4 separate regions of the Homo sapiens genome follow, and all the other regions are linked to region 4. Evidence: promoter capture Hi-C in 16 types of primary human blood cells and fetal thymus (Javierre and others, 2016). All regions are on one chromosome and are shown on one strand. The core of a region is centred on a gene start or on the middle of the fragment in contact, and the rest is flanking DNA. Distances in the headings are between cores, read along the strand shown.

What was found. The method cuts DNA at HindIII sites, captures the fragments that hold promoters and counts their contacts. A CHiCAGO score of 5 or more calls a contact.
Region 1: a contact is called between a fragment that was not itself captured here and the fragment with the promoter of PARP8 in region 4, in 7 of 17 cell types (non-activated CD4 T cells, neutrophils, total CD4 T cells and 4 more). The highest score is 10.2, in non-activated CD4 T cells.
Region 2: a fragment that was not itself captured here is called in contact with the fragment with the promoter of PARP8 in region 4 in 5 of 17 cell types (neutrophils, M2 macrophages, M0 macrophages and 2 more); the score reaches 10.5 in neutrophils.
Region 3: a contact is called between a fragment that was not itself captured here and the fragment with the promoter of PARP8 in region 4, in 1 of 17 cell types (neutrophils). The highest score is 9.0, in neutrophils.

The regions. Positions count from the first base shown.
Region 1 is chr5:50,516,156-50,522,940 of GRCh38, reverse strand. No RefSeq gene overlaps it. Among named protein-coding and RNA genes, the nearest start is that of EMB, 78 kb to the right of the region's middle. The HindIII fragment of the contact is 625 bases long and covers 2,335-2,959 here.
Region 2 is chr5:50,815,612-50,822,673 of GRCh38, reverse strand. PARP8 (poly(ADP-ribose) polymerase family member 8) reads right to left here. Exons shown (of 26, transcript NM_024615.4): 16 at 1,336-1,461; 17 at 274-339. Among named protein-coding and RNA genes, the nearest start is that of LINC02106, 150 kb to the left of the region's middle. The HindIII fragment of the contact is 7,160 bases long and covers 1-5,599 here.
Region 3 is chr5:50,798,365-50,805,503 of GRCh38, reverse strand. All of the region lies in intron 14 of PARP8 (poly(ADP-ribose) polymerase family member 8), which reads right to left. Among named protein-coding and RNA genes, the nearest start is that of PARP8, 140 kb to the right of the region's middle. The HindIII fragment of the contact is 8,543 bases long and covers 1,365-7,139 here.
Region 4 is chr5:50,665,270-50,671,640 of GRCh38, reverse strand. It overlaps PARP8 (poly(ADP-ribose) polymerase family member 8), which reads right to left and starts at 5,004. Exons shown (of 26, transcript NM_024615.4): 1 at 4,455-5,004; 2 at 3,516-3,570. The coding sequence starts at 4,545. RefSeq lists silencers at 3,880-4,209, 4,902-4,961, 5,012-5,161 and enhancers at 3,182-4,381, 3,817-4,729. The HindIII fragment of the contact is 4,109 bases long and covers 2,619-6,371 here.

The sequences.
Region 1 (6,785 bases), core at 1,398-3,897, 150 kb after region 4:
GGTCAGTATAAACTCTACCTATAAAAGTCAATGTCCCTTTGACTCTTGCTCTAATGATGATGATAGAGTCTCTTAGTTGACTGGATTTGCTCTAAGAGTCTGTAAGAATAAAGTTTATTTTATTCATTTAGGCAATTCCTTTTTCTAAGACAGCATGTGCTTGTGTATCAAACCAGAAAGGAGACAGAAAGAGTCAAATGAGTTTGTTTTCATCGTGTAACTTAAAAATAGGCAGACATTTAATGATTTATTTCGTTTTGATCTTTAAATTCTCAGAACAGTCTTCTCTCTTAGTCCTTTCTAGCTAAGAGTCTATTTTCTAACTTTCTCTGTATCCAGCAAAAACCAAAAAACAAACAAAAAAAGTCTATATCTAAACATTGTCCAAAGGTGTTTGTGAGATACATTTAGCAGTACAATAAGGAAGGTTATTATTGTGAGAAAAGAGAGACATAGTCAAGATGGTGATATAGAAGGCTCCACCCTTCATCCCCCTACCCCTACAAGGACAGCAACTTAGCAACTATCTACACAGAAAAAAACACCTTCATAATAACCAAAAATAAAGTGAGCACTCACAGTACCTGGTTTTAACTTCATATTGCTGAAAAAGGCACTGAAAAGATAGCAAAAACAGCCTTGAATCACCAATGCCACCCCTCCTCCACCCCTATCCTTCACTGCCCCTTCACCCCAGCAGCCGTGTGTTGTCGAGAGCATCTCTGGGTGCTGTGGGAGGGAGAACACAGTAATTGTGAGGCATTGAACTCAGTTCTGTCCTATTAGAGTAAAAAGAAAAACCAGACCAAACTCACCTGACACCCACCCATGGAGGGAGCATTTAAACCAGCCCTAGCCAGAGGGGAATTCCTGAGCTTAGTGGTCCAAATTTGAGTTCCCTCAAACCTTGCCACTGAGGGTTACAACACTCCATGTCTCTAAGTAAACTTGAAAGGCAGTCTAGACCATAAGGACTGCAACTCTTAGGCAAGACCTAGTGCTGAACTAGGTCCAGAGACAGTGCACTTGGGGGGCACGTGACATACTGAGACATCAGCTGGGGCAGCCAAGGGAGTGCTGGCATCACCCCTCCCCTAACCCCAGGCTGCACAGCTCACGGCTTCAAAAGAGACCCTTCCTTCTGCTTGAGGAGAGGAGAGGGATAAATGGGGAGGACTTTGTTTTGCATCTTGGATACCAGCTCAGCCACAGCAGGATAAGGCACCAGTCAGAGTAGTGAGGCCTCCGTTCCAGGCCCTAGCTCCCATCTGACATTTTTAGACACACCCTAGGCCAGAAGGGAACTCATTGCTTTGAAAGGACCCAGCCCTGGAAATATTTATCACTTGCTAACAGAGGAGTCCTTGGGCCCTGAATAATCAGCAGCAATACCCAGGCACTACGTCAAGGGCCTTGGGTGAGCCTCTGAAATTTGCTGGCTTCAGGTAAGACTCAGTACATTACCAGCTGTGGTGCATATGAGGCAAAACTGCTGCTTGAGAAAAGCAGAGGGAAAAGTAAAGGGGACTTTGTCTTGCACCTTAGGTACCAGCACAGCCACAGAGGGGTAGAGCACCAAGTGGGGTCTTGAGATCCCCAATTCCAGTACTTGGCTCTTGGATGACATTCCTGGACACTGCCCTGATGGGTGAGTCCCAGGCCAGGCAGCATTTATCACAAGCTGACTTAAGAGCCCTTGAGCCTTCAGGGAACATTGGTAACATTAGTGGTAGTCTGGCAGAACTCCTCTTGGCCTGGGGGTGGTGGTCACTAGGGGGTGATGCTCCTCTGCCTTTGGAAAGGGGAGAGAAGAGTGGGAAGGACTGCATCTTGTGGGTTTAAATGCCAGCTCAGCCACAGTATAAAAGAATACCAGGTAGACTTCTAAGGTTTTTGAATCTAGTCCCTGACTCCCAGATGGCACCTCTGGACCCATCTGGGATCTGGGGGACCTTGCCACCCTGAAGGGAAGGACACGAGCCTGGCTGGCTCTGACACTGGCAGTTTGTAGAGCTCCAGGGCCTTGAACAAACATAGGCCGTTGCCAGAGAATGGCTACAGGAGGCTTTGGGTAGACAGTGCTGTGCTGGCTTCAGGTCTGACCCAGTGGAGTCGTAGTGGTTGTAGCCACAGGGGCGTCTTGCCAGCCCAGCTTTAGGTGGCTCAGAACAGAGAGAAAGACTCTGTTTGAGAGAAAGTAAGGACGGAAAACAAGAGACTTTTCCTAGTAATTCAGATAATTCTTCCAAATCTTGTCCAAGACTGTCAAGGCGGTACTTCTACCATTCTGCAAGAGCCACAGCATTAATGGGCTTGGGGTGCCCCCTTAAAGCTTAGGTCACAGCTTAGATCACAACACCCATGTTCTTTCAAATATCTGGAATGGCTTCCCAAGAAGGACAGCTACAAATAAGGCCAGGCAATGAAGACTACGATAAATACCTAACTCTTCAATGCTCAGACACCGAAGAGCAACTACTAGCATCAACACCATTCAGGAAAACATGACCTCACCAAATGAACTAAATAAGGCATGAGGGATCGATGCTGGAAAAATAGAGATATGCGACCTTTCAAGCAGAGAATTCAAAATAGCTGTGTTGAGGAAACTCAAAGAAATTCAAGTTAACACAGAGACAGAATTCACAATTCTATCAGATAAATTTAACTAAGAGATTGAAACAATTGAAAATAAGCAAGCAGAAATTCTGGAGGTGAAAAGTACAAGTGGTATATTGAAGAATGCATCAGAGTTCTTTAATAGCAGAACTGATCAAGCAGAAGAAAGAATCAGTGGGCTTGAAGAAAAGTTATTTGAAAATAGACAGAAGAGACAAAGATAAAAGCATAAGAAACTATGAAGCACACCTACGGGATCTAGAAAATATCCTCAAAAGGGCATATCTAAGAGTTACTGGCCTTAAAGAGGAGGTAGAGAAAGAGATAGGGGTAGAAAGCTTATTCAGAGGGATAATATCAGATAACTTTCCAAACCTAGAGAAAGATAACAATATCCAAGTACAAGAAGGTTATGGAACACCAAGCAGATTTAAGCCAAAGAAGATTGCTTCAAGGCATTTAATAATCATACTCCCAAAGATCAAGGATGAAGAAAGGATCCGAAAAGCAGTAACAGAAAATAAACAAATAACATACAATGGAGCTCCAGTATGTCTGGCAGCAGACTTTTCCAAGGAAACCTTTCAGTCTAGGAGAGAGTGGCATGACATATTGAAAGTGCTGAAGGAAAAAACTTTTGCCCTAGAATAGCTTATCTGGAGAAAATTTCCTACAAACATGAAGGAGAAATAAAGACTTTCCCAGACAAACAAAAGCTGAGGGATTTCTGGGGGATTTCATCAACACCAGACCTGTGCTGCAAGAAATGCTAAAGGGGACTACTTCAATCAGAAATAAAAGGACATTAATGACCAATAAGTAATCACTTGAATGTATAAAACTCACTGGTAATAGAAAGTACATAGAATATCATAACACTGTAACTGTGGTGTGTAAACTACTCTTATCCTAAGTAGAAAGACTAAATGATGAACCAATAAAAATAGTAACTACAACATCTTTTCAAGACATAAGCAGTACAGGCTGGGCGCGGTGGCTCAAGCCAGGAGCACTTTGGGAGGCTGAGGCGGGTGGATCACCTGAGGTCAGGAGTTCAAGACCAGCCTGACCAACATGGGGAAACCCTGTCTCTAGTAAAAATACAAAACTAGTGGTGGTGCATGCCTGTAATCCCAGCTACTCAGGAGGCTGAGGCAGGAGAATCACTTGAACCCAGGAGGTGGAGGTTGCAGTGAGCCGTGATGGCACCATTGCACTCCAGCCTGGGCAACAAAAGTAAAACTCCATCTCAAAAAAAAAAAAAAAAAAAAAAAAGACATAGGAAGTACTATATGATAAATAAAACAACAAAATAAAGTGGAGAGTTTTTGTTAGTTTTCTTTTTGCTTGTTTGTTTATCCAAGCAGTGTTAAATTGTTATCAGGTTAAAATAAGCGTTTATAAGATAGTATTTGCTAGCCTCATGGTAACCTCAAACAAAACAATATACAATGGATACCAGAAAAGGAAAAGCAATAAACTAAATCATATCACCAGAGAAAATCACCTTTACTAAAGGAAGAGAGAAAGGAAAGAAAGAAGGAAGAGAAGACCACACACACACAAAAAGACACAGAAAATAAATAACAAAATGGAAGGAGTAAGTCCTCACTTATCATTAATAAAATTGAATGTAAATGGACTAAATTATACAATCAATAGACAATAGCCAATGATCTGTTGTCTACAAGAAACACACTTTACCTTTAAAGATACACATAGACTCAAAATTAAAAAATGGTAAAAGATATTCCATGCCAACGAAAACCATAAAAGAACAGGAGTAGCTGTACTTATATCAACAACTATAGACAAAAACTATAAGAAGAGAAAAAGAAGGTCACTATATCATGAAAAAGGGGTCAATTCAACAAGATGATATAACAATTGTAAATATATATGCACCCAACACTGGAGCACCCAGATATATAAAGGAAATATTGTTAAACCTAAAGAGAGAGAGAGAGAGATAGGTCCCAGTATAATAAAAGCTGGAGACTTCAACACCCCACTTTCAGCATTGGACAGATCTCCCAGACAGATAATCAACAAAGAAATATCAGAGTTAATCTGTATTATAGACCAAATAGATCTAGTAGATAGTTACAGAACTTTTCATCCATGAGCTGCAGAATACACATTATTCTCCTCAGCACATGAATTATTTTCAAGGACAGACCATATGTTAAGTCACAAAACAAGCCTTAAAACATGCTAAAAATTGAAATAATATCAAGCATCTTCTCTGATCACAATGGAATAAAACTAGAAATTAATAACAAGAGGAATTTCTGAAACTATACAAACACAGAAATTTAACATATGCTCCTGAGTGACCAGTGGGGCAATGAAGAAATTAAGAAGGAAATTGAAAAATTTCTTGAAACAAATGATAATGGAAACACAACATACCAATATCTATGGGATATAGCAAAAGCAGTGCTAAGAGGGACGTTTATAGCTATAAATGCCTACATCAAAAAAGATGAAAAACTTCAAATAAACAATCTAATGCTGTATCTTAAAGAACTAGAAAAGCAAGTGAAAACCAAGTCCAAAACCAGTGAAGAAAAGAAATAATAAAGGTCTGAGCAGAAATAAATAAAGGTGAAAACAATACAAAAGATCAACGTAACAAAAAGTTGGTTTTTTATAAAGTTAAACAAAATTGCAAACCTTTAGCTAGACTAAGAAAAAAAGGGAGAGCATTCAAACAAATAAAACCAGAAATTGAAAAAAGAGACATTACAACTGAATCTGCAAAAATTCAAAGGATCATTAGTGGCTATTATGAACAATTATATGCCAATAAATTGGAAAATCTAGAAGAGATAGACAAATTCCTAGATACATACAACCTACCAAAATTGAACCAAGAAGAAATCTAAAACCTGAACAGACCAATAACAAATAGCAAGATCAAAGCTGTAATAAAATATCTCCCAGTAAAGAAAATCCCAGGACCCAATGACTTCACTGCTGAATTCTACCAAACATTTAAAGAAAAACTAACACCAATCCTCGTCAAACTTTTCTGAAAAGAAAGAGGAGGAAGGAATACTTCCAAACTTATTCTATGAGGTCATTTTTACCCTAATACCAAAATGAGACAAAGACACATCAAAAAAAGAAAAGTACAGGCTAATATCTCTGATGAATATTCATGTAAAAATCCTCAACAAAATGCTAACAAACCAAATTTAACAATACATTAAAAAGATCATTCATCATGATCAAGTGGGATTTATCCTTGAGATGCAAGGAAGATTCAAAATATGCAAGTCAATCAATGTGATACATCGTATCAACAGAATACAGAATAAAATCTATATGATCATTTCAATTGATGCTGAAAAAGTATCAGATAAAGTTCAACATTCCTTCATGATAAAAAAGAAACCATCAAAAAACTGGACATAAGAGGAACGTACACAACATAATAAAAACTGTATGTGACAGACCCACAGCTAGTATCATATTTAATATAGAAAAACTGAAAGGCTTTCCTATAAGATCTGGAACACATTAAGGATGCCCACTCTCACCACTCTTATTCAACATGGTACTGGAAGTCCTAGCTAGAGCAATCAGACAAGAGAAAGAAATAAAGGGCATCTAAATTGGAATGGAAGAAGTCAAATTATTCTTGTTTGCAGATGATGTGATCTTATAGCTGGAAAAACCTAAAAGACTCCACTAATAAACTCTTAAATCTTATGAATAAATTTAGTAAAGTTACAGGGTGCAAAGTCAACATACAATATTCAGTGGCATTTCTACATGCCATCCATGAACAATCTGAAAAAGAAATTAAAAAGTTGTCCCATTTATAATAGCCACACATAAAATTAAATACCAAGGAATTAACCAAAGAAATAAAAGAACTCTGCAATGAAAACTATAATACACTAATGAAAGAAATTAGAGGGGGCATCAAAAAATGGAAAGGTTTTTTATGTTCATGAGTTGGAAAAATTAATATTGCTAAAATGGCCATACTACCCAAAGCAATCTACAGATTCAATGCAATCCATGTCACAATACCAATGACATTCTTCACAGAAATAGAAAAAAACTACTCTAAAATTTATATGGAATCAAAAATGACCCAGAATAGCTAAAGCTATCCTAAGCAAAAAGAATAAAACTGGAGGAATTACATTACC
Region 2 (7,062 bases), core at 770-3,269, 150 kb before region 4:
CCTTAAAATATCCCGACATACCTACATGTACCCAAGCTCTTGCCCGAGTTTGAGGGCAGAGTATTAGGAGTATAATTATCTTATAATTATCCACTTACTTTCCTGAAGTCACAGTGTTACATGCTAGTACACTGATGTGATTTAATTAAAACATCTTAATACCGCACAAATTTTTAAATGATATGTATTATAGAGAAGTCTACATTTCACTACATAGCTAGAACTCTCAGACATTTTAAAAATATACTGTACAAGACCAGATGACATACTTACTTGTGTCATTTCTCTGATAGAAGTTATGCTATCCAGTGCTTTCATTACTCGATCATAGTTCTTTTTCTGTTTAATGAAAAAGTGATGTTAAAAAACAGCATTTGCTTATAAGCTCTTGCAAGTCTGTATATCACTAGAGAAATATATTATTTCCATATGTGAATTTTCCACTGGGGTCAATTTGAAAGAAATGACTGTTTGGTGTACATAAAAGGGAAGACTATAATAAGATGGCTCCAGGACTTCAGTCAGAGAAAAGAAACAAAGAAAACAATGCCAATCCTTCTATAAGCCATGGCGGAAAAAATCTAGAAACACAAAAAAGTTATGGGGCTCCTGATTCAGGCTTTCACCACTAAAACACTAAGCCATAATGAATAAAGTCAACATAGAATCCTAAAATACAAAAACCCACTTCAAATCTCACAACCGCTTTTATTTTATTTTGAGTTGAATATTGTTAACAAGAGTATGGTTGACAGTATACAAATGATAGCATACAGTCACATAGCTGACAATTCATTTTCAAGCAAGATCTAAATATGTGCGCTGTTGCCATTTATGAAGAAATAAAGTTCTTCCAAGAAAATTGTATACAGTTGTTTCTATAAAATTATTTCAAGCTGAGTAGTAATAGAAACTGAGGCAACTTCAGCTCTTATGCAATTTGAAAGTTTTGTAATTTCAAAAGGATTCTGCCTTATCTTCAGGAACATTTATAAAACTGCTTCCTTAAGAAAGGCCAGTCCATTAACAGTATGAACTAAACTTTCACTAACCTTCAGATAGCTGGGGAGGAAGAAGGGAAAGAGGAAAGGAGGGTTGAAGTGAAAATGCAGAAAAGAAAGGAAAACTTGTCCCTTTACCCATGATCTTTAAAATCAAAATGAGGTTATGTAAGTCGGAATCCCCAAAAATATATGATGAAATTAAATACTCATGGATATGCTTGATGAGATAGAGATTTAGATAGAAAGAGGAAACCTAATGAGACTACAATCTCAATATTGTTGTTATTGTTAAAGAAAACTTTGTGATTGGTGTGCCATGATAACAACTTACCCTGGGGTTGAAGGCCAACATCTGAGGATCATTAGGATCTACCACAGAAGGATATGGCTCGAAAATCACAACTTTTCTAGGAGATTCCAACGCAGACCTACACATGGATACTAGTAGATCTACCACCTTGAAATATACACATAAGATAGTTACTACCCTTCAGGTTTTATCCAGTGCTTTGCCATTGTTTCTCCCTCTCAAGGTAGCATAAGTTAATGAGGAAGATCAGGACTGCTACCAATCTCTCAAATGTGTAATGCAAGACTTGAGACCACATTTGACCAAACTTTACCATCAATTCAAAATAACAAACATGTGCTGCTTCTCATTACTCACAACTTAATATCTCTTTTTCAAAGGCACACATTATATGCCAGTATTGTTCTAGACCCTATGGTAAGACAAGGCACAAGACAGACAAGTCCCTGCTCTGGTGCAGCTGATAGTCTAGGGGAGAAGATACACAATAAAATATCAGTTAAACAAATAGATGCTTCAATAGAATTTCTGATACTGTTAAATGTTATAAAAAAATAAAGTAGGCACTAGAGAATAATGCAGAAAGGGACATTGTTTTAGAGTGGCTAAGAAAGGTGGTGAATCTCAACAGAGACCTGTACGGGGTCAGGAAGGAGACATGCGACCATCTGGCGAGAAGCTGTTCCAGGGGAAGGAAGCCCCATGTGCAGGAAAAGACTTTGGCATGCTCCAGGAATAGCTAATTGCCTGACAACATCTTGCCTCTTCCTATTCTCCTCTATCCAAGTCCACTAATGACCTTTGATTGGCTAAAGACAATGGCTTTATTCCTGTGTTATCCTGTTATCCTATGATTCTTCTGCACAATCTACTAAGAGGCAGTACTATATAGCAGTTTGATAGCATGGCTCCCCTTGCCAGTCCCCAAAACAATATATTCTGGCCACTGAATAAAGAAAACTGATACTGCCTAAATGGTCAGAGTTCACCTGAACAGACATATCTACAGTGTGAACACAAGTGACTTAATAAGGAAGCATATATATCTTTATAGGGAAAGCTATTTCTAGAAAGTCTTTAGACAGGCATTTAAAAAATGCACAGTAAGAGGGGGCCAATTTTTGATTGTCCTGCTTCTAAGAGAGGAGTATTGTGACCTAATGACAGCAGAGCTGACTATGTTGTGTGGGTACTCACAAAACACACCCACCCAATCATAGCATCCAGAATTTCCAGTGACCTAAAATAATCAGCAACGCTCAAGACACCAGACATAACATGCCCCGAGTACATAGACATGCATATCCACAAGACACACTCTGAAAACATTAGAATGGAAACATCTAATGTTCCTGACACACTATTTCATTTGTGTGTGTGTATGTAAATACATGCATACATATATATAGATATATGCAAGAAGTTATATTCCAAGCAATAAACATAATAAGGACATAATAAAACCCTCCTTTTTGTCTTCCTCTCCCACCCTCACATTCCTTCTACTCTAGAGATGCACATTAACCCTGATACAGATTGTTTTCAGCATTATCTGGTCTCTAATGAAAACCCAAACAAGAACTGACAAAGAAGAATCAGTAAGATAAAATAGCCTTGTTGGGCGCAGTGGCTCACGCCTGTAATCCTAGCACTTTGTTTGGGAGGCCAAGGAGGGAGGATTGCCTGAGGTCAGGAGTTCGAGACCAGCCTGGCCAATGTGGTGAAACCCCGTCTCTACTAAAAATACAAAAATTAGCTGGACATGGTGGCAGGTGCCTGCAGCGCCAGCTACTCGGGTGGCTGAGGCAGGAGTACTGCTTGAACCCGGGAGCTGGAGGTTGCAGTGAGCCAAGATTGCGCCACTGCACTCCAGCCTGGGTGACAAGAGCAAAACTCCGTCTCAAAAAAAAAAAAAAAAAAAAAAAAAAAAAAGAAGATAAAATAGCCTTTTCTGAGACCTTGTAGGGAGGAGGGGAATGACACAGATGGATATGCTCTCACTAAAACCCTTTAAAAATTATGTCCTACTATGCAATTGAAGTTTTATAAAAGTCCATGCATTTTTGACCAATATTTTTACTAGTATATTTAAGTAAATTATAATGTAATAATGGGTAGTAAATTTAATTGGTAGAATATTTCTGTTAATATATGTCCTAGCCTAACTTCAAAAAAAAGTGTAACTACTGTGACTCAATTACATGGGATGCACCAAAGTTTCCAACTCCTTGCTCACTTCCAGGACACAGCGCTAATACCTGGAAGCAGCTGCTCAGCAAAGCACATTTCCACCTTTTTGTCTGAATAAGGTCTTAACCACTGGCTTTCACCAGATCATCAGTGGAAAGGGGCTGACCTGATGCAAAGAAAGGTATGTCTTCCTCAGTTTCTCTACTACATGGCATATAGTAAAGACAGCAGGGCCACATGATCGAAGGGGTCCAGTCCCCCCGGTCACCACACAGAAAGTGGCCCATCAAACATTCTAATTGGAGTGTGTGAATGACAAAATGCTACCATGTTAAGCTGCCCGTGATTTTATGGTTTATCTGTTACAGAAGCTAGCATTAGACTTTTTAAGAAGAAAAACATTTATAATACAATTTGGATTTATATTCCTTTGCATATGTTAATTTTTCTAAGTATCTCATGGACTAAAACATCCACTTTAAAAAATAAAAGGCTGGGTGTGGTGGCTCAGGCCTGTAATCCCAGCATTTTGGGAGGCGGGGGTGGGAGGATCACTTGAGCCCAGGAGTTCAAGACCAGCCCGGACAACACAGTGAGACCTTGTCTCCAAAAAAACAAATAAAAATAAAAATGTAAGAGAGGCTGGGCATGGTGGCTCATGCCTGTAATCCAAGCACTTCAGGAGGCTGAGGCGGGAGGATCCCTTGAGATCAGGAGTTCAAGACCAGCGTGGCCAAGATGGCCAAATCCTGTCTCCACAAAAAAATACAAAAATTAGCTGGGTGCAGTGGCATGGACCTGTTATCCCAGCTACTAGAGAGGCTGAGGCAGGAGAATCGCTTGAACCCATGAGGCAGAGGTTACAATGACTGAGATTGCACCAATGCACTCTGGCCTGGGTGACAGAAAGAGGCTCTCTCGAGGGGGAAGAAAAGAAAGAAAAAATAAAAAAGAGCACACAACTATGACTTCTTTTTTTTGGGGGGGGGGGGGCTAAATGATATATTTCCCCACTCCCAACGATTTAAAATTAAAGATTCTAAATAGAATCTTAGTATATATGATGCATGCTATGGACAACAAGTTACACACATATATCTGCCTTCTTTGACTGAATGATACAAATGAAGAAGCAATTTGGCAGTTGACTAAGATACTTAGGATGGAAATGCAAAGAAATATTAGGTTTAAGCAAGAAAAATTAGGACATTTGATAAGTGAAGATAAAAAGGTCTGTGAATTTACAGAATCAGGTGCCTCCAAAGGACATTACATTACCTACAATTCAACTGGCAGAGCAACCCTCCCCACACACACCCCTTTCAGGCAAATGAGAAAAATTCGGTCATTAGTCTTTAGTCATTAGTCTTTTAATAACTGGAAGTCCATGTGACTAAGAAAGGCACCTATAGGAAGAGCCTAAGGGTATACAATGTAGTCTAAAAAAGGAAGCAGATTCAGAATTATAAACCAATCATTGTCCAATACTGCAATAGTAATTTAAAAAAAATCTTAGATGAGAGCCCAATATCTAAACAAATAAAATGGAACTATTCTGTTGAAGTAGTATTTGGGGTGCTGGAATAGCAGCTGCTTAGACCACAGGACACTGTTGCTCCAGGCAAGTCCCCTGCAATGGTCCTGAGGAATGTCTTTGCAGCCCCCAGAGCACCACTTAAAATGCACGGGTAAACTGAGGCAATGAGATCCTGAGGTGGTTTCTTTTTGTTTAGAAAAAGAAGTGATTTCCCTGTAATCGTTAGGATTATGACAGAATACTGGGGAACCTGTTTTAAGAAATAAAGTATGAAAAAAATGCTGTCTTTGGAGTAGAATTACTAAACTTTCTGATCTTTTGATATTGATTTTTAGAATTACATCACTAAATTGAGCTGATCAAATACTTGTGCTTTGTATCAATCATTATATAATTTGAATTTCATTTCTATTCAAAACCATTAATTTTATGATGTAACAATGATTTTAAAAGGCCAACTATTATTCTATCAACATACCATACTGTTAGCATACTACTTTTCCTTCTAATTTATAATTTACTATTACTAGCCTTTAATTTCTTTTTTAAAGGGAAGCTTGCATACGGTAAAATGTGTGAATTTTAAGTATACTACTTGAAGAATTTTTAACATATATGCACATACACAAATCTATATAAATATACATGTGAGCATACTCATACAACATATCCCTTGTAAGGTTTTAATTATTTTTACATAGCTATAAATACCATACATATTAAAGTACCTTTTTTTTCCTTTTAGCAATATTATTTCCAAGGGACAAGAAAAACTTTCACATTTAAAAAAGAAGGATGGAAAAGAAAAAGGCTCTCCATAGTCAGATATATTTTAGTAACCCTCTAAGTATAGGCTAGCTATTTTCTTAGTTATAGGGATGCTCAGAACCGTTAATATGCAAATGTGTGCATGTTGGGTGTGGGGGAAATACGAAGCTATAGTTTGGAAATTTATTTTAATCATGGAATCATTTTTTTCATATCATATAAGACCAACATTCTACTCTTTGTATTATTTGTTTCATTTATACTTCAATTATATGAAAAATACTGCCCTAAATATTTCATCAGGTGGATGCAAAATAGTTTTAGTTAATTAAAATGACTAGGCCAAGGAGTGTGTACATTCCTAAGCTCTAGGCTACCATCTGTATTATTAAACTGTTGTGCCTTCATAAGCCTGATGCACTGCCTCAAGTTGTGCATGTTAAATTTTACTGTCCTATAGTTTGTATTAGCAAATAATTTTTTAAAACTAGGTATTCGTTAAGCTATCTGAAATCTGTTTTTGCACACAGTGTAAGGTAAAGCGCTAAACCAATTTTTCCCCGTTACAGGCCATTTGTTTCTACTTCCCTTACTAAATAATGCTTCAGTAAGTGAGGAGCTGAAACCTACTTTAACATACATTAAATTTATTCATAATTTGATCCATTTGGGGGATAATCTGCCATTGATCTGCCATACTATTCTTTGCCAATACTATATTTTGTTAAAACGTTATAGCACTGCATATATGTTTCTGTATGTGGTTGGTCTAGTCTCTCTTAATTAATGTTCATTAATTTTTTAGAGTTTTCTTTTATTTTTTTTCTTATAGATGAATTAGTAGTTTAGTCAGGTTAAGAGGGAAAAAAAAAATCTGGAAATTTTGATGGAATTGCTTTTCTTCCTATCTCTGAAACACTGCTCTGTAAAACTGAATGTTCTCTTTTTATTACATACTCTGCCTATTATCTTTTCACCTAAGTTTTAAAAATAAATTGGCTTCCATTTTATGGCAGTTATCTTTACAAATAAATTTTACATAAAGCATGCACGAGGGTTTCAATATCTCCACTTCACTGTGTAAGAAGAAATTAGAATTATTTTTCATGCAATGGAAAGTTGGTTTAATTTCTCTCCTTGGCAATCACAAAATAACGAAACACACATTAGATGGAGAGATCACATTTAGTTTACATATAAAAAAAATCAAATGCCAATTTGCCACTTAACTAGAAGTTATCAAATATTTTCCC
Region 3 (7,139 bases), core at 4,387-6,886, 130 kb before region 4:
TAGGTTCAAAGCCAAACTTCTACCTATATTTTCCGGGTGGTGTTGAACAAACTGCTTAACCTCTATAAATCTTAGTCTCCCTATTTGCAGCATGAAAGCAAAAGTACCTAAACCACAAGAGTTGTGTGATGATCAAATAAAAAAATAATAGGCCAAATATCTACCCACAGTGCCTGGCACACAACCCTCAATAACCTCCTTTCTTCTGTTAACTATGATAGATATTAGCTCAATCATTATTTTCATATTTATCTATATTTTATTATTTCTTAACTCAAAAGCTGGACCTTGAATACTATGCAGATATGGTACAATGAACTTGCTTGTTTAAAACTTTGAAATAAGGAATGATATCAGCAAAAAAGCTGAGTGAGGAACCCAAACTTCCACCTCTCTATAAAATCTTTAAAAGAAACTGGCAAAAATGGCCTGAGTCAACTCTTTTGGTATTCTGGAAATTAATTTTAAAACTTGCAGCAACCCAAGGAGTACTTACTCAGAATCAACAGCTGAATCTTGGTAAGAACCGTAAAACTTGTGACATTTAACCTTCTTTCCATTTTGGAAAAAAAAAAGAAAAGCTGCAGCTTGTTGTCAGCACTTATTTAACTCTACGTAAACGCACTCTTTGAGGCTGAAGCAAATCTGATTTTCAATCAATGTGAAAATAAAATATAAAAACTGTTCTCGGAGCTATTTCTAAACAGAACTAACATCAGAATCGTCTGAATCATTAGAATCCTCTATTTCTGAAAAATCAGATTCATCAAATGAATCTTCAGTCAACCGCTGTTCTAGAACAATGTTAACATTACGCGTACAAATGCTGTATTTTCTAGGATTTGACAAGTTCAGTGATCAGGAATTACTACTATATTTTGTAAATGGAAATACCACTACTAAAACCAAAATGCTATAAGTAGAATGATGTATTTTGTTTCCAAAGTAGATATACTAGAGCCATGCAGAAATAATAATATAAGCGACAGATTTCATGGCAAAGTTATCTCCGGGTAAACACTGTAGCCGCAAGTGCTACTGGCAAGTATTGTTGGGGCAAATGGGAAAAGGGTTAAATTTACCCTAATCCAATCTTCCATTCGCCAGCTCAGTGGCAGCCTTAAAAACAATGCCCTGTATTTCCAATAATAGAGGGAGCAGAACGGAACTGATTCACAAATAGCTGTCTGATAGTTCTCTGGAAGACACGCTGAAAACACTTGTCTTTATTTCTGCCTGACTTGGAACTCACCCAGTACTAAACCATTACCTGGAGTGGGGATTGAAAACATTTACAGTAAGCGTTTTAGTTGTGTGAGGCAACAGATAACAACTGAGGCAAACAACAGAATAATCAAAAAGCTTAGAAGAAAGGATTGGGAAAAGAGATGTCCATAAGGACTATGAAAAACTCACATATATTTCTGGAAATCCAGAAGGCCATGTGCTTGCCCATGACTGTGTGCATGCTCAAGAAAGACTTTAGAAGGCCTTAAATCTCACCTCTGGCTGATCTTACCACTCTGTACAAGCAGGAATGAAGGCTAAGGACTGCCAAAACAGTTTGGCGAGATCTAAATCCCAGAGTTCCAGCATTATTGTATTTAAAATGTCCAGTTTTCAATAAAAAAATAAAAAAGGCATGCGAAGAAATAAGAAAGTAAGACCTATTCACAGGGTAAAAAGCAACTAATAGGAAGGGGCCCAAGGAAAGCATAGATGTTAAATTTACTAGACACAAACTTTAAACTGGCTATACTTAAAACGTTCAAGAGCTAAAGAATATCATATCTAAATAAATGAAGAAAAGACAATGTCAACAGAGAGTATCAATTTATAGAATTTATAAAAATAAACTCTGGAGTTGAAAAGTACAATTACTGAAATAAAAAATCAGATTTGAGCAGGCAGAAAAAAGAATCAGTGAACTTGAAGATAGGTCCATTGAGATTAACTAATCTAAGGAAGAGGAAGAATAATAAAATGAAAAAAATGAACAAAGTGTAAGAGATCTATGGGGTACCATCAAGCATACAAACATACAGATAATGGAAATTCCAGAAGGAAAGAGGAGAGAAAAATTGCAAGAGGAATACTTGAATATATATGGCTTAAAACATCTCAAATTCATTAGAAAAAAATTAATCTACACTTCCAAGAAACCCAATTAACTCCAAATAGGATAAATTTAAAGAGGCACTTAGACACATCAAAATCCAGACGCCAAAAACCAAAGACAAAGAAGAAATCTCGAAATCAGCGAGAGAAGCAATTCATCACATAACAAGGAATCCTCAACAAGAAAACAGGTCATTTTTCATGGGAAACCACAAATACCCAAAGGCAGCAGGATGACATACTCAAAATGCTGAAAACGGCACAAATCCTCCTCCATCACACACAGAAATTTCCAACCATGAATTCTATACCCAGCATAACTATCCTTCAAACAATAAAGGAGAAATTAAAACACTCCCAGGTAAAAACCAACAGAGTTCATCATTTGCAGAGATTTCCCACAGGAATTAATGAAGGGAGTTCTTCAGATTAAAATGGAAAGGACACTACATAGTCCACATAAAGAGATAAAGAGCTTGGGTAAAGGTAAACATGCATACAGGTAAATACAAAGGACTGCACACAAATATATATATTTTTAAATTTTAAACATAGATATAATACATTGATACATTTGACTTTGATTTTTTTTCCTGATTTTTTCTGGTTTGGAAAACAACTGCGTAAAGCAATAATCATAAATTTATGTTGATGGGCACATAATATAAAGATATAACTTACATATTTATATATAACAGCAATTACACGTACTTCCACTCTGGGAGTGGAGTTGAAACTATGTAGGAGCAAAGTTTTTATATATTATTAAGGCTGGGTACAGTGGCTCATGCCTATAATCTCAGTACTTCGGGAGAAGGGAGAATCATTTGAGGCCAGGACTTCAAGACTAGCCTGCTCAACATAGTGAAACCCCATCTCTACAAAAAACTTTTTTAAAGATTAGCCAGGCATAGTGGCTTGTGCCTGCAGTCCTGGTTACTTGCGAGGGTGATGCAAGCAGGAAGATCACTTAAGCCCAGAAGTTGGAGGCTTCAGTGAGCTATGATCAGCACCACTGTACTCCGGTCTAGAGGACAGAGCAAGATCTGTCTCTTATTAAAAAAAAATCAAGTTGGTATTAATCCAAACTAGATTTTTAGAAATTAGAATGTTAATTGTAATCCCTAGAGCAATCACTAAGAAAACAAACTGAAAAGCTACAACATGGGAATTAAAATGGTACACTAGAAAATGCCTATTAAACACACAAAAGAAGGCAGTAAGGGAGAAGCAGAGGAACAAAATAGACATAATACAAATAGAAAATGAATTGCAAAATAGCAGAAGTCTTTCCTTATTAGTAATTATGTTTAAGTAAAAAGATTAGCAAGGATTTAAAACCAAGATCAACAATTTGCTATCAACAAGAGATTCACTTTAGTTTTAAAGACATTAATAGGATAAAAACATAAGCATGAAAAAAGATATTCCATGCAAATAATAACCAATAGAGAGCTGCAGTGGTTACACTAATCAGACAAAATAGACTTGAAGACAAAAATTGCTATTACAGACAAAGAAGAACATGAAAAAAGAGTCAGAACATCAAGAAGATAAAACACTTATAAACATATACGTATCCAGCAACAGATTTCCCAAAATACATGAATCAAATATTGAAAGAACTGAAGGTAAAAACAATTCAACAATAATAGTCAGAGCCTTCAATACCCCCACTTTCATAATGGTAACAAAGAATAAATGAATTTGAAAGAGAAAATAGAGAAATTCAATGAAATGAAGAATCTGTTCTTTGAAAAGGTAACTAAAATCCACAAGCCTGTAGCAGGACTGACAGAGAGATGATACAAATGTTCAACATCAGGAATGAAACAAAGAGTATCACTAAAACTCTGCAGACATCAAAAGGATAATAAGAGAATACTAATAAATTACTCACATAAATTTGACATCTGAGACAAAACGGACCAATTCCTCTAAAAGCACAAACTATCACATTTCACCCAAAATAAAATAGATAATTTGAGGCCTAGCATGGTGGCTCACGCCTGTAATCCCATCACTTTGGAAGGCCGAGGTGGGCGGATCACCTGAGGTCAGGAGTTTGAGACCAGACTGACCAACACGAAGAAACCCCGTCTCTAATAAAAACACAAAATTAGCCGGGTGTGGTGGTGCATGCCTGTAATCCCAGCTACTCGGAGGCTGAGGCAGGAGAATCACTTGAACCCGGGAGGCAGAGGTTGCAGTGAGCCGAGATCATGCCAGGGCAACAAAAGCAAAACTCCATCTCAAAAATATATATATATATAATTTGGATAGCCCTATAACTAATAAAGAAATTGAATTCATAAATTAAAAATTTTTCACCAGGTGTGATGGCTCACACCTGTAATCCTAACACTTTGAGAGGCTAAGGCAGGAGGATTCCTTGAGCCCAGGAGTTCAAGACCAGCCTTGGCAACATGGTGACACCCCATTTCTACAAAAAATTTTAAAAATTAGCTGGGCATGGTGGCATGTACCTGTAGTCCCAGCTACTCAGGAGGCTGAGGTGGGAGGATCACTTAAGCCCAGAAGGTTGAGGTTGCAGTGAGCCATGTTTGCACCACTGCACTCCAACATGAGTGACAGAGTAAGACCCCTGTTTCAAAAAAAAAAAAAAAAATCTAAAACAGAAATCTCCAGGCCCAGATAGTTGTTAGTGCATATCAAAAAATCAGTGTAATACATCATATTAATAGCATAAAAGAAAAACATAGTAATATCAAGAGACATAGAAAAACAAAAACCAACAAAAATGCTTTCATGATTATAAAACCACCTAACAACTAGGACTAGAAGGGGATTTTTCTCAACCTGGTAAGTGGCATCTATGAAAAATCCCCAACAAACAGTGAAAGGCTGAACATTTTCCCCCTAAATCACAAGATAAAAATTTCTTTTCTTGCCACTTCTAATCAGTCTTGTATTGAAGTTCTAGTCAAGCACATTAGATAAGGAAAAGTAATAAAAGGCATCCTGATTAACAAGGAAAAAGTGAAACTCTATTTGCAAGAGACATAATTTTATATAGAGAAACAAAGAATCCAAAAATAACTTAATAGAGCTAACAAATAAGTTCAGCAATGTTGCAGTATAAAAGATTAACATGCAAAAATAACTTCTATTTCTATATAATAGCAAAGAACGTTCTGAAAATGGAATAAAGCAACTTAATTTACAGTAACATCAAAAATAATAAAATGCTTAAAAACAAACTTATCCAAGGAAGTGTAAGACTTGAATGCTGAAAACTACAAAATAGCATTGAAATAAAATTTTAAAAGCCTAAATAAATAAAATGATCTGGTGTACATGAATTGGAAAGGTTAATATTGTTAAGATGATGTCTTGGTCTATTCCGGCTGCTGTAATCGAATACCATAGGCTGGGTGGCTTATAACAACAAATATTTATTTCTCACAGTTTTGAAGGCTGGGAAGATAAAGATGTCAGGAGATTCAGTGCCTGATGAGGGCCCATCTGCTGATTCATAGACCAGAGTGACAGTAAGGCCACAAATTGATCTTCTTGCTGTGTCCTTTCATGGTAGAGGAGTGAGAGAGCTCTTTGTGCTCTATTACAAAGGCACTATTCCTGTTCATGAGGGCACCACCCTCATGACCTAATCGCCTTCCAAACAACCCATCTCCTAACACCATCACATGGGAGTTAGGATTTCAATGTATGAATTCTGGGAGGAACACATCCAGTCTATAGCCAATGGCAACAGTCTTCAAACCGATTTACAATTCCAATGCAACCCTATCAAAATTCCAACTGCCTTTTTGCAGAAATGGACAAATGAACCACAGAACTGATAGAGAAACGCAAGAGACCCCAAACAGTCAATGCAATCTTATAAAACACAAACAAAGGATTTCTGCCTCTTGATTTCAAACTTACTATAAAGCAACATTAATCAAGACAATGTGGTACTGGCCTAAGGACAGACATGCAGATCAGTGGAAAAAGACTTGAGAGTCCAGAAATAAACCAAAACATCTATAGTCAAATAATTTTCAACGAGGGTGCCAAGATCATTCAGTAGAGAAAAAATAGTCTTTTCAAAGAATGGTGCTGAGACAACTGGGTATCTACATGCAAAAGAATGACTTTGGACCCCAACCTAACACCATATACAAAAATTAACTCAAAAAGTATTGTGACTTAAATGTAAGACATAAATCGTGAAATTCTTAGAGGGAAACATAAGTGCACTGTGTGACTTTGAATTAGGCAATTACTTTTTAGACGCAACATCAAAAACACAAGTAACAAAAGAAAAAATTGATAAATAAGACTTCATCAAAATTAAAAACTTGTGTGTGTCAAAGATTACCTTTAAAAAATGAAATGACAAACTACAAAATAGAAGAAAATAATTGCAAATCATATATGTGGTAAAGATAAAGTATTCAGAATACATAAAGAACTCTTACAACTCATGAATAAGAATACAAATAACCCAATTTAAAAATATGAAAAGGATTTAAATAGGCATTTCTCCAAAGACATGCAAATGGCCAATAAGCACATGAAAAGATGCTCAAAATTTTTTAGCAGAAAATCAAAATATTTTAGTATCTTTTAGTCAGTCATCAGGGAAGTGCATAAGAAAACCACAATAAGAAACTGCTTCGGCCGGGTGCGGTGGCTCAGGCCAGGCGCGGTGGTTCACGCCTGTAATTCCAACACTTTGGGAGGCCGAGGCTGGTGAATCACAAGGTCAGGAGATCGAGACCATCCTGGCCAACACAGTGAAACCCTGTCTCTACTAAAAAAATACAAAAAATCAGCCGGGCGTGGTGGCGGGTGCCTGTAGTCCCAGCTACTAGGGAGGCTGAGGCAGGAGAATGGCATGAACCCAGAAGGCGGAGCTTGCAGTGAGCCGAGATCGTGCCACTGCACTCCAGCCTGGGTGACAGAGCGAGACTCTGTCTCAAAAAAAAAAAAAACAAAAAAAATAGAAACCGCTTCACACATACTAGCATGGCTATAATTATTAAAAATAATAA
Region 4 (6,371 bases), core at 3,755-6,254:
TTTATATGTATATAGACACATAAAAATCTAAAAGAATAAATTTTAATATGTTAACAGAAGACAGAAGTCATGTATTTTTTACTTTCTTCTTTTTGGCGTATTTCTTCTTCTAACTTTTTTTTTATTTTTTTTTTTTACAAAACACAATTCTTATTTGTGTACTTTTAAAACCTCAGAGTTATACTTTCACAATACATTCCTGGCTGAAAGTTCACACTCGGAATTCCAGAGCAGTCCATGGCCAGGCCCACTGGGCTCCACTTGCTCTCTCCTTGGCTTTGGTAACCACTGGCCCCAGGGACTCAGCCTGCTTTCCTATCCATCCCCTCAGTAGCTGTCACCATGCAGGTTACCCCTTCTGTTCCTTCTACCACTAACTCCATGTCTGACTGCAAGTGAAAGGAACAGAAGCCCAAACCTTTGGGTTTTAAGGAGTTTATTGCTAATCAGTAAAACAGAAAGAGACAGAAGATAAGTATGACAAAGTATAGGGAAGAAATGACTTTTGCCTAAACTTCCAAATTGTGTACAATTGAAGCCTCTGCTTTATAGTTCTTAGCACACCTCTCAAATAAGAAGGCAGTACTGGGAAGGCTCTGAACCTGTGGCAGAACCACTGATAGCTGTGGAGCTATTCCAAGGAGTCTGGGAATCAGGGGGATTATCAAGATCATTGCTAGAATAAATTAATCTTACCGTATATATAGCACAAGTTTTCAAGCATATGTAAATGCTACTTATAACCAAATAATTACACCTTGTTTTTCTTTAAACTGTAACTCTCAATTATGTCTCTACATAATTTTTTGATGGTAAAGTGTCTGCATGCTCAAAAAGCTTGAAAACACTAATGGAGAAGAAGGAGGTCTCAGGAGTGTGATGGAACAGGTTTACATGGCAGCTTCAACATTTAATTGATGAAAGTGACTATGTGTCTTAAACTCTCTGAGCCTCAGTTTGCACATCCAAAAGCAAGGATATAATTCCATGAACCTTTCCACCTCAAGTCCACAAGGCAGAATAGCAAGATGTTAACTGCCACTCTGAGGACCACCAAATAAAAGGACAATTTATTAGGCCACTTGCCAGCATGGACACAATCGCCTCTTGGCATTTCTTATTATCCACAGAAAAATTAAAAGTATAAATGTAGAACAAAATTATTATTTTTTTTTAATAGTAACATGTAAGATCAATCTTTGTCTTTAAAATACCATGTATCTCATTCTTGGAAAGCATCAAAAAGAAAACGGTATAGTAAGTTTTATCTACAACTTGAATTAAAATTATTCTTGAAATATGTTCTTAATGGTTAGATGAAATGGTAGTTAAATACAAATAGAGATAATCATATACTCTCTCTCCATAAGGCTCCCACCTCCTTCAATAAAGTCTAGTTCACCTAAAATGATACTATTAATTCAATATTACAAGTTGATAAGCACATTAAATCAAAACACAGCAAGATTATTTTAAGAGTCTGACTGAAATGTCAGGATAAGAAATAGATTAATAAATATTGGTTTATAATGTCGGTAATGAAAACAAATACGTTATTTTCAGAAAATAAAAGGTATTCGCCATTAGGTACAAATCATAAAGGGATTATCTACGGTTACTACACTGTAACAACTTTTTACATATTGTATTTTAGAACAAGCTTTTGAGAAGACAAAGCAACACATCAGCAGTTTAACCAATTGTCTTTCTCTTTTAACAGGCTGGTCTACATTAGATTAGATATAAAAGGCTCAGGTACACTTGTGCTCGATCTTAGCCAAATGGCTGAGAAACAGCCAGGTACATTTAAATCAGTGACAAAAGAAAACACTATCCTTTAATAAAATTACATAAAATAGGAAACATCTCTTACTTTAAGAGCAACCATGGTACTTCTTCCTATGGTGAAAACTGATGTTATCTCGCTTAATTATTCATCCCAACACCTGGCCTTGCTCCCTTTTCCACCTCTAGCTATGTTAACACTAGAGTCCAATAATTTGCTGATAAAGAATCTTAACTGCAGTATCTAACAGATCTTAGTGATTAAGCATATGATTTACCCTTTGATTGTACAGATAAGTAAACTGAGGCCAAAAGAACTGAGGTATCTTATTAAAAATCAGAAAGCTAGTTACTTGAAAAGCCCACCTGTCCTTCCTGTCCACATGTCTCACCAGAAAAACAGCAATAGTGAAAAGTCAACTCTGTTTTTAATGGGCCACTTTGTATATTTTAACTGTTAAAATAATCCAAGAGGATATTAGTCATATACGAAGATCCTTTAGATATAATGTGTAGGACCAGCGTTAATTTAATCAACCAAGTCTCCTCTCATTGAATTATTAATTCATAATTACAAAGATGACATTACAGTAAATTAAGAAATACTGTAATTTCATTCTCTCCCAAAAAGTATACACTTAAGTTTGGTGATTCACTGTTATATTTTCAACTAGTAAATCAATGTGCTAATTCTGGGGCTTAGGTATATTGCATATACTGGAATGATATTCACTTTAAATGTTTTGAGATGTATAATGTAATACAGATCCTACGTGTTTTTAAAAGTTCACATCAATTTCAAGCTTTTAAAAATGTATGTACACAAGAAAGCTTCTTTTGCAATTTATATGTTTATAAATGTTTCCATTAGCTAAGATATATTTTGGAATGTGATCAAACAATATTGAATGTCAAGTCCTAACAGCAGGGCTGGTCTAAGGAATTCCCTCTAAGCTAAATCTGGTACTTCTCATATGTGGCTACTGCTCTTTTAAACTACTGTGTCCCTAAAGGGCTAAAAGGAAGAAAATCCTAACTCAACAAGTGAAGGTAGCAAGGCATAGTATTTGAATGGCTACCTTTCATTTTAACTCTACTTCCTAAATTCAAAATTGGATTTGGGTTTGTTTCAAGTTGTTCACAATTTACTAACGAAATGTGCATCTCTCATTCTTCCCCCAAAAGAAAGAAGTCATCCACTCCAGCTACATATAAGTCTCCAATTTCTATACGTGAAAACCGAAATACCACTCATTGAAAAAAAAATGTACAGAGAATTGGCAGGCTGCATGTTTATGTAAACCTTCAGAAAACATGGAAACACGCAGCCCCAACTCACCAGGAAAATCAACACTTCTGATCAAACTATTTTGTGACATTTTATGTCTTTTATACATTTCACTTCATATCCAGTATTCCAGTTTTGCACCGGCGTGCCTGTATCAACCCCAAATCGCCTGAGAGCAATCTAGTACTGTAGCAGAACAGTTTCAACATGAAGAGTTCTGCTCATTGCCTGTGGCGTGGTCCTCGAAACACCTGAATCAAACATTGATTCCCCTCCTCCTGCTATTTAAAACCGAGGGACGTCAGGCTTGGGTAGCAGGTAAAGAAAAGCCACAATAATCAAACAAACAAGCAACCAAAATACCCGAACACGGAACACGCTAAGAACAAAGGAAACACAAGAGTGTGAACAGGAAATGAAGCAACTCTATACACATAAATACCTTCTGGGGCCGCCAACGTAGGTAAAAGTAAAGGTGGAGTCAGAGTATCTGAAATCTGAAACAGAAAGTCCCGTCAAAAGCTACCCCTGGAGTGGATTTGTTTTAACCCCGATCAGGACTTGAGCCCCACATTCGGTGGTGTCAGGGGAGGCCTGGCCGGGCAGAAGGCAAGGGCTAGAGGGCGGCGAGGTCCCTCTGCGCCGCGTCCGAGGGGATGCGGCGCGCCCCCGACTGGGTGCAGCGGGAGGCCGCCCCCCGCAACAAGTGCCGGGTGCCATGGCAACAGCGGGAATTTCCCGATAGGGGAGGCCGGAAGCAGCCTCAGCCGGGCTCGCGGTAGCGAAAGCAAAATCCCGGGGGAGCAAAATGGACGAAAGGCGACCCCCAGGCAGGGGCGCTGGGTGCCTTGGGAATCCGAGGAATCCCTTCTCTTTGCCAGTCGGAGGGGACTAGAGGGAGCCGAAGGGGCCGGAGATGGGCCGAGCGCTGCCCCCCGGGGGTCCTCGGCGCCGGGCGCAGCTTACAAGCGCAGCGCAGCGCAGCAGGCTCCATTCCCGGCCGCCGCCGCTCAGCCCATTGCGCAAACCAACCCCGCTCTGCCGCCGCTGCTGGAACCCAGGAAGCGTGCTTGGAGGCTTCGGGCACTACGCGGGGCTGGAAATACCACGCACTGCCCCTTCGCCTAGACCCCCGCTCCGGCCACGCGGGCTCTGCCCTCAAAGCTGGTGGCTGCCTCAGACTTGGCGGTGGGGGAGGGGAAGGGGAGAGGCTGGCGCCCCCTCCCCCTTTTGGCTCCCGCGCTCGTTGCAGCAGCTGTTGCCAAATGAACCCCAGAATGGGGACGTGCAACCCTCCACCCCACCCCCAGCCACAGACGTCGCGGTCAGAAAACTGGGAAGGGGGCGCTGGGTCCGAGGTTCTGGAAAAGCAAGAACTCACCTGCAAACAGGCAGTCCTTCTCAGCTCTGGACTTCTGGATCACGACGTCGATATCCTTCTGAATTCGCTCTTGCCTTGAACACATCCCCATTAAATAAATCCCTGGAAAAGAAGCAGCCGCTATTTCCACCCCACCCCACCCCCCTCGCACGCTTCCAGCTTTCGTAAATATTCAGTTAAAAATGAAACCTCTGGCCGAGGCAGGGGCTGAAGGCGAAGTGGTTTCGGAAGTGATCCTGGGTGAGAGAAGAGGAGGAGGAGGAGGGGGAGGAGGAGGAGGAGGGGGAGGTCGGCTTTGCATTCCCAGATGTGACCGCCCAGCTGCTGCTCGCCGCTGCTGGATTCCAATTTCCTCCCCTTCTGACAATGGATGGTGATGACACCAAGTCTCACTTTCTCCCTCACCCGCCCGGACCAACGGCCGTGGGGGCCGAGGTGCCGGGGACAGCCAGAGAGCAATCACCGGCTGGGCGGCGGGCGCCGGCGAGGGGCGAGCCCCGCTCCGGCTCACGCGCGCACACCCCTCACGGCTCGCACGCCGGCCTTCCACACCCGCGCACACTCGCGCCCGCGGGCGGCGGCAGCCGTGCCCAGGCTGCTGCAGCGCCGCCCGCCCGCCGCAGACCCTCCGCGCCCGCCGCCTAGTCACCCCGCCGGCCGCGGGCTGCCGGGGCTCGCAGAGTATTAGCCATCCCGGGCGGGAGCCGCTTCTCCCCACACCGACCTCCACTCGCGCCGGGAGCTGAGCGGTCGTGAAGACTCCCTGGGGCTCCCAGCCTTCCCTCTCCGCGCCCCTCCCCCCATCACTTTTATGAATTCGACTCCACTTTCTAAAGGAATTATAGTCTTGTGGCAAACCCAAACCGGAGTGGCTGGGAGGGGGAAAAGGGGGGAAAAGAAAATCTTTAAAAATTAAAAAAATAATAAAACGAACAAATCTTTCCTTATTGCCACATCACATAACACGGAAAAGGCCTTAAAATTACTCCAGACGTGCACCCTCCCCTTCCCTCAGTGCCTGAGTCTTTTTCCTCCAGATCGAAGTAGTTCAGCCCTTTTGGGGCGCCGTTTACGAAACACAGCCCCTTTTGAGGGACTTCCTCCTCTTGAAACTCACCAGTTCTCCCTTCCTAGGTGTTTCTGTTCATGAGAAATGGTCAGAATCAACTGGCACGTTCCAGGGTCTTCCTAAAAGATGGAAACCTGTTTGGCTTGATTTTTAAAACCACCTCCTTTGACAGTCAAGGGAAAGCTACAATCCAGGTGTTCAGAAATGAGATACTGCTCTGATTCTCACTTTCTGTTCTGCCTAAGGACACCCCAGGCTGACGTAGCTGCCCCACCTCTATATTGGTTTATGCCCTAGGAGAGGTCTCCAGCAGGCACTTTTCTTGTTGATCTTTTCTCCACTGAGAAGGCTCCCGCCAGTAGACCATGACTCCTTTTGCTTTGCATACTCAGTGCCATGTACAGTGCCTGGAATACAGGAGGGTGGCCTAAATGTTGGCTGAATGCACGAATGGTCATTTCTTGCAGCCTCTTTTCATTACCCTGTCTCATCACTTTTCTTATCAGCATAAGTGCCCAAGAGTTGCCAAACTGTTTCAGACCCTTAATCAATTTAGTTCTGATTCTGACCGTGACAACATGATGTTCAGCACGGTAGGAATGACTGCCATCCCTGAAGGAGTCTTAAGATTCTGTAGAATCAATGAAAGATCCTATGTTCTAACTCCTTTATCTTTCAGGAAACAAATTACAAAATAATTTCCTTGTCCAGTCATATTCACTATGAGTTACAAAAGGAAACATTCTGCATTATTGAGATCCACTGCAGCCTTTGATGTAGTAAAGCCACAGTCACAACAGTCTATATCTCCTGCTCAGTCCTCTCCTGAAATGCTTCCTGTTTAGGGT